Regions from separate parts of the Homo sapiens genome. Here region 1 is linked to region 2. Evidence: promoter capture Hi-C in 16 types of primary human blood cells and fetal thymus (Javierre and others, 2016). All regions are on one chromosome and are shown on one strand. The core of a region is centred on a gene start or on the middle of the fragment in contact, and the rest is flanking DNA. Distances in the headings are between cores, read along the strand shown. Region 1 has its middle 170 kb from the start of HFM1. Region 2 holds the start of BARHL2 (BarH like homeobox 2).

The links. The method cuts DNA at HindIII sites, captures the fragments that hold promoters and counts their contacts. A CHiCAGO score of 5 or more calls a contact.
Region 1: a fragment that was not itself captured here is called in contact with the fragment with the promoter of BARHL2 in region 2 in 1 of 17 cell types (non-activated CD4 T cells); the score reaches 5.1 in non-activated CD4 T cells.

What each region holds. Positions count from the first base shown.
Region 1 is chr1:91,232,702-91,236,459 of GRCh38, reverse strand. No RefSeq gene overlaps it. Among named protein-coding and RNA genes, the nearest start is that of HFM1, 170 kb to the left of the region's middle. The HindIII fragment of the contact is 154 bases long and covers 1,973-2,126 here.
Region 2 is chr1:90,715,294-90,719,154 of GRCh38, reverse strand. It overlaps BARHL2 (BarH like homeobox 2), which reads left to right and starts at 1,853. Exons shown (of 3, transcript NM_020063.2): 1 at 1,853-2,584. The coding sequence starts at 1,960. The HindIII fragment of the contact is 6,796 bases long and covers 1-3,829 here.

The DNA.
Region 1 (3,758 bases), core at 800-3,299, 520 kb before region 2:
GAGAAGAGCATTTTCAAATGACATTTAAAAAAAAGAAACTCCAAAAGGAATTTCTTTAAGTGAACATCCTTAAATTTAGTGACTCTGGTTTATTTCTTGCACACAGATATTATATTGCTGGATATTATATTGCTGGAGTGCCTGAGCGGGGATAAAAAGAGATAGAGAGACTAATTCTCTGAGGATACTAAGGAATATTCTGTTCATCACTCAGGGGAAGGCACTATATAAATTACATTATAACAGTACTGCCTCTTTCTGATAACATAACACTGAAAGAAGAATTCAACACGACAAGAAGTCAAATTTACTATCATACTGTTTTGATTCTCTTGGTGATGTGATAAAGTGCATGCTGATACCTGCTTTTTATTTTATTAACTTCAGCTTCTCTGAATGCCAACTTGTCCCATTAGAAGTCTTGACTGCAAAATATAAACTGGGTCTGATAATATCTGTGCCCTATGACTATGGAAAGAACATATAATCCACACCTGTGGTAGACAAAATAATGGCTCCTGAAGATGTCCACATTCTAATCCCAGAAATTTCATAAATATGGTACCTTACAATGGCAAAAGGGACTTTGCACATGTGAAATTAAGTATCTTGAGATGAGATTATCCTGGTTATCTGGACGGGCTCAATGTAATCACAAGGGTCCTTATAAGTGAAGGAGGGAGGCAGGAGAGTCAGAGTCGGAGAAGGAGACGTGACCATGGAGCAGAGGTCAGAGAGAGAATGAGAGAAGGAGCTAGAATTGAAGATGCTACATTGCTGGCCTTGAAAATGGAAGAAGGGCCACAAATTACAGAAAGAATGCAGTTCTGGATTTTGAAATCAAGCAACAGCCTTCATTTTTCACTCAGGGACACTGATTTTTGGACTTCTGGCCACCAGAACATAAATTTGTGTTGTAATCAATGCGTGCTGTTTAAAGCTGCTAAATTTGTGGTAATTAACTTGTTACAGCAGTAACAGAAACTAATACAATGTTTTTGGATTCATGGCACAGAGCTATATTCATATCATTTTCATTGGATTGAACTGACTTTCCCAAACTGTGTGATAATCCCAAACAGAACTATGACCACAACCCAGGGAGACCCTACAGCAGAAGATCTGGCTTTGCCTTTTTATTTGCAGCACAAGCTCACTTCACTTCTTTGTTCCCATATAGTTTCAGGCTTTTTTAAAAATGGAGTGCTAGTGGAAGTTTGTAAGTGTGGGAAGAAACCAGTCCTTTCGTGAGTTAATTCCTCTCTCCCAGGTTTTAAAACCCAAAGACACTGTCTCAAAAGATATTTACAACTATAAACAATGTCTTTTAATCACTTGGCTTCTGTTTTGTGCTCAAAAGTAAACAAGAGTGAACCACTTGGAGGATGAGGAGAAAGTTCACAAAGCCTTTAGAAGGTGGGTAAGTGTCTTCACCAAGAGTCACAAGCTGTGGATATGACGTTGGGCAGCTGATCAAAATTTCACATGGGTCTAAGGAGTTGAATAATATTAACATCTACTGTGCTAAGGAGCACTTGAATTACAGTAAGGAACATATGCATTATCCCATTGTCCCACACTTATACCAGTTTTCATTTGAGGAAATTAAAACTTAAGAAATGGCACTATTTGCACCGTTACCTATGGTGGACTCACTGTACATCTGACTCACTCTATACTTGAGTTGTTTACCACTATTGTATGTCCTTTCCCTTCTCCACATCAGAACCATAACAACTTGGAAAGTTTTCTATGTGACGTAGTCATGGCAGGTTCATTTTCTTGAGTTTCTAAGTGTGCTGCCTACCCAGGAAAATTCCTGAGAATGCAGGAGGAGTTTACTAGAGGAAACACATTATCACCAAGCAAAGTCCTACTGCCAAATGCAGGTAGCAGAGAATGGCTAGACAATGCAGGACAAGCTTGGCTTTTTCTGAAGTGCACTAGTTCTTATTGGCTCAATGGAAAAGCTTGATAACTGATGCCATGATGGTGACTTCATTAGAAGTAAGGCAGACAATGAAAATGAATATTTTGCACATTTTGATTCCAATCATTGCAATCGTCCCACTGAGGAAGAAAAGCTGAAGGAATTCATTGAGACAAATTAGGATAAACAACAAGCTTTCTGATAAGCATGGATAAAAAGTAGACAGGATGACAACATACCCAAGGTATTGGAGTAACTCAGCAAAACACACTGGGAATGAAGACTAATGCTCAGAACAAGATAAACATGCTAAAGAATGGCTGGGCATGGTGGTTCATGCCAGTAATCCCAGGAGCTTTGGGAAGCCAAGATGGAAAGACTGTTTGAGGCAGGAGTTTGAGATCAGCCTGGGCAACATAACAAGACGATATCTCTACAAAAAACAAACAAACAAACAAAAAAATTAAAAATTAGTCAGGCATGGTGGTAGGTACCTATGGTCCTAGCTGCTTGGGAGGCTTAGGTGGGAGGATTACCTAAGCCTAGGAGGTCAAAGCTGCAGTGAGCTACAATTGAGCCACTGCACTCCAGCTTAGGCAACAGAATGAGACTATCTCTTTAAAAAAATGCTAAAGAAAACATTAAATTCAGATCAGAAAGAGTTCTGGGGAGAGGAAGGCCCCACCTTGAAAATAATGATGGTAGGTTAACTTATAGCAACAATGAGGAAGTAGAACTTCTGTACTCCTATTTTACTACCTTTTTTCCCCCTTGGGGAAAGAAATGGCCCATCAGAGTTGAGTGGAAAGGGTAGAAATAATAAGGAATTGGAGGCCCAACTTGTTTAAGATTCCACATCTAAATCACTGTATCCCAAGGCATGGTAACATCATATTGATTGAGGAAACAGGTTTTGGAATCAGATAAATCGACTGTGTTCTCCTGGCAAATGGTTTAACAGCAATAAATTTCAGTTGTAAATACCTCGTAGGGCTAGGGTGATAATTCAGCTAAAGCAGTTTAACATAGCATCTGGGACATAATAAATACATGCTAGCTACTCATTTTATCATTTGGTATTTTCATTGACTAGCTGCAATGACATCAGTAATCTTTTAAAAATGGTGCCAAAAGAATAAATATCGTGAATAGTCAGTAAGACTAGAACTAATAATTTTAAAGATAGTTTTTTTAGTTTACAAAGTAAGTAATGATGCTAGGAATAGTATGAGTTCAGTAAGAAGAGGCCATACCAATGTAAGTAAATTTTCCTTTTTCTAAAGGGCTACTTAATGGAAATCAATAGAATTTTATGTACAGAGAGTATTCAGATTTCAGCATGACCAAGAATCTCATGAAAGAGTCTTGTGAAAGAACTGTGGGCTGCTTGTCACACAGAGAGGGATTTTTAACTTGCTGAATAACCCAAATGGTGCTAGTTAAGAAATATTCCAAATCAAGAAAAAATTTATTAGGAGGAATAACTTAGAGGGTGGTCCCTCAGCCCTAAATTTTTCAGCAGTTTCACCAGTGACTGTTATGCTGACATCTGTAGCATGCTGATCAATGAAATTATTGAGACAAAATTCAAATTCAAAATATTCTGAAATGGCTGAAACAATAGATCAAGTCTAACACTATGAAGTTTGTCCACAAAAAAGTCTAGTCTTTTACTTCGTTCCAGCATCAAACTGTATAAGCAGAGGATGGGGTACATGTCTTAGAAGCTTGTATTCTTTAAAAGTTTTACTCAAGAGCAAGGCCATGTCAACCTAAAATAATAAAAAAAAGGTCAGAATACAGTTTAAAGAGGATTTATTCAAACACA
Region 2 (3,861 bases), core at 604-3,103:
ACTTTGAATCATTCATTAGCACCTTATAATTACTCTGCTAATTAGGTTGACACGGCACTTAATCAGGAGTAATACGCCGTCTTGTCACTGGCACTTCCCATTACTCTGACATTCAACATGAGACAGGTTGGAGACGTCCTAGAGAAAATAATGCAAGTTGATACACTCCAACGAGGCGTTACAGTCATGCTCCGGGTCCCAAGTGGATCCGCAGTGACTGTTTCCTTTCCAAATGAGCGCTCGCCGAAAGGGGCCGGGGGACAGAGGTGGACGGACTGCCGCGGGGCGCGGCAGGGGCGCGGGCTGCAGACCAGCCGCTATGGGTCCTGAGCCCCGCGCCCGCCCGACACCGCAGTGAACCGTGGCTGCCCTCGCCACCAGAGAACGCCTCGGGCATTAGCTCCCCCGTTCGGGAGAAAGCGTCTGGCCAGGCATTTTTTCCAGCTGGAGACCAGGCTGGTTCCCCAGCTTGGAGCCTCAGGCCTCGTCCTCCCCGAGAGCGCCTGGTGGACGCGGACCCGGCTGTGTCCCTCTCAGGGATCCGCCTCCCGCCGGGCTGAGCCCGAGCGCCTGGGTTCGTCGGGCGAGAAATCAGAGCCCAGAGCCGACCCGCCCGCTTATGCAAGGCTCCGGCGCCTGAAGTGACACACTTTTCTGTGGATTCCTTCAGGGATCTCCTTCCTCCGCTCTTAATGTCTTCGGACTATTCCCGCGCGCGTTTGGGGAGGCTGCGAGGGCCGCCGCGCTGGAGCCTAAAGGTAAGTCCCTTCCCGTCCTCTTCTCTCTCTCTTCTGACTTAAGAAAACGGGCGAATCCTTGCTACTTTTTTTTTTCTTTCTCCCCTTTGGTTCCCTTTCTCTGGTCTCCCTCTGATCTCTTCCTCCCTCTCCCTTTGCCTCGCACTCGTGATTGTGGACACCGGGACCACTGGACTCGGAGTTCGGCTCAGGGCTGCGGGCTCAGGGATGTGCGGGTTCTCAAAAGAGCAGCGGAGTCCGAGCCGAGTCCGCTGACGGGCTCACGAGCGCTGCGCCTATTGGCTCCCTGGCACGTCGGCGTCCCTCGCTCGCGCGGGCGCGGCCAATAGGGGCGCGGGGCCGGACGCGCGGCCTCGGTGGCGGGGGCGCGGGCCCGGCGCGGCGCGGCGCGGGGAGCGGCGGTAGTGGCCGTGACGTCACGGGAGGGGGTCGGCGCCGCCCGCCAGCAGCCGGATTACAAGCGAACGCGCCCGGCAGCGGCCGGAGTCGCCCGGCATCGCGTCTCCGCCGCTTCCTCCTTCTGTGCCTGCTCCTTCTCGTCGTCCTCCTCTTCCTCCTCCTCCTCGGGTTGCCGCAACCGCTGCGGCCGTGTCTGCCCCGCAACTTTCCAAGAAAGTTCAGAAACTCGGCTACGGGGCTGCCGAGTGGCGCGCGGCTGCCACCTCGGGAGCCGCGGGGGAGTTCCGAGGGCGCGCGGCCGCCCGGGCTTCGCGGTCGCTGCACCTGCCGCGTCCGCCGCCGCCACCGCTGCCGCCCGGTGCCAGGCTGTGGGCAGACCCCGGCAGCGGCGGCGGCGGCGGCTTTGGCGTAGCTTCCCGCCGCCTGCGCCTTCGCCTTCGCCTGCGCCTTCGCCTTCGCCTTCGCCTTCGCCTGGGTCCTCCGCGCCGCCACCGCCGCGCCACGTGCGCAGTCGTTCCTGGAGCGCAAGTTCCGAGTTTTCTCAGAAATTTTTTTAACTCCCCCCGCCCCCCGCATCTTTTTTCTTTCCACCCCTACTTTTTGCATAAAAGAAAAAAAGTTGTGTCGAAAGTATCCACAGATTGCCACTTCCCAATTACCCTTCCTTCTCTCCCCGCCCCACTTTTTTTTTTTTAAGCGGCGGCAACATTGTTTGGTGTTTATTTTGTTTTACGATCGATAGCTTTCTTCGCTGGTTCGGGGCGGCTGCTGAACGGCGGAGTGGCGTGGACCTCATGTAGCAATGACAATGGAAGGGGCCAGCGGGTCGAGTTTTGGAATAGACACGATTTTGTCCAGTGCCAGTTCAGGCAGCCCAGGCATGATGAATGGAGATTTCCGCCCGCTCGGTGAGGCCAGGACCGCGGATTTTAGGAGTCAGGCCACCCCATCTCCCTGTTCGGAGATTGATACCGTAGGGACGGCGCCTTCTTCTCCTATCTCAGTCACCATGGAGCCCCCGGAGCCGCATCTGGTAGCAGACGCGACCCAGCATCATCACCACCTCCACCACAGCCAGCAGCCGCCGCCGCCGGCCGCGGCCCCGACGCAAAGTTTGCAGCCTTTGCCCCAACAGCAGCAGCCGCTGCCGCCACAGCAGCCGCCGCCGCCGCCCCCCCAGCAGCTGGGCTCGGCCGCCTCGGCCCCCAGGACTTCCACGTCTTCTTTTTTAATTAAGGACATCTTGGGCGACAGCAAACCTCTGGCGGCATGTGCACCCTACAGCACCAGCGTATCCTCTCCCCACCACACCCCGAAGCAGGAGAGCAACGCAGTGCACGAGAGCTTCAGGCCAAAGCTCGAGCAGGAGGACAGCAAGACCAAACTCGACAAGCGGGAGGATTCCCAGAGCGACATCAAATGCCACGGTGAGTCCCGCCACCCGGCGCTCTCGGCCGTCTAGCTTGTCCTCCTGGTTCCCAATCTCCCCTTCAGCCTTCAGCAGATCTCTGCTGGGGAGCGATTCCAGGAGCTTCTCGGGCGACTGGGCGACGGTCAAAAGACTGCAGCTGAAGGGAGGCCTGGGCGTGCGATGTGGGGACTCCTCGAAGTTCTGTTTATTGTTCTACCCCACAACCTTCACGGCCATCCAGCTCCTTCCTTTGTTTTATTTAATTTTAATCTACTGGGGGTTGAGGGGCGGCGGAGGGCATCCGACAGGAAATACTTTTCGTTGATAAAAGGGATGGACTTGGGGTTTTTCTAGCCTAGACTTTGGGAATGGGAATGGGGGGAGGTAGGAGAGAGAAACCACTTAGCTAGCGTGGGTGTGATCACAACCTGGTGTTTATTCTTTAGTACAAGTGATTTCACCCCCCCCCCACTTTATTTTCTTAACATCATCACAGGAATTATCGGTTTTAATGGAGGAAAAATTTCTGAGTTCATGAACAGAGCAACTTTAAAAAAATTAGATTGTGGTTAGCCCGTAAAAATTTGTAATAAGTTTCTTAAAAGCACCCTTCTTACCCTATGGCCTCAACTGAGTATCTGTATCCTACAAAGATTTTTGGCCCCTTACAAGTACTTAGGAGGTAGTATTTATAAAAATAAAATCTTATGAAATTGGATTAATCTCTTTTTTGTTAAAAAAAAAATAAGATGACAATGGAAATTGTCCTTCAACTCCCTTTTTCCATTTTCTCATCAGACAATTTCATAAGTAAATGTGGTAGTCTTTGCATGGCAAAAGTTTTAACATACCAGGAGAGCTTTTTCTTCCTTTACAGACACATTGTTTATTATTATTGATCCTTGTTTTTCTGGTAAAGAAATGTACTGACTGGAAGGTAGGATGTTGGCTCCTCATTTTACTATTATAGCATTAGCATAATAGTGTCCAAAACAGATGTACAGTCTGGTCTGGCGATTTTTTGTGCACCAACCTCCCCAGTGGGTCAATTAGAGAGATTATTGTTCTTCCTGCAGGGAAGATCAAGGAGCACTGCACAAACGGGTACAAACAGGGAGGGATTGACATATCGATTTCCCAGCATTTCAGTAAAAAACCAAAGTTGACAAATAGAATCCGGAAATCTCCATGCTGTCACCTGGATGGGCTCAGTGATTTTGAGCTCAACTCGGTGTCTGGGTGACATATTCTTTGTGAAGCTTTAAAAGACCTGATGCAGGTGGCTTCAGAAAG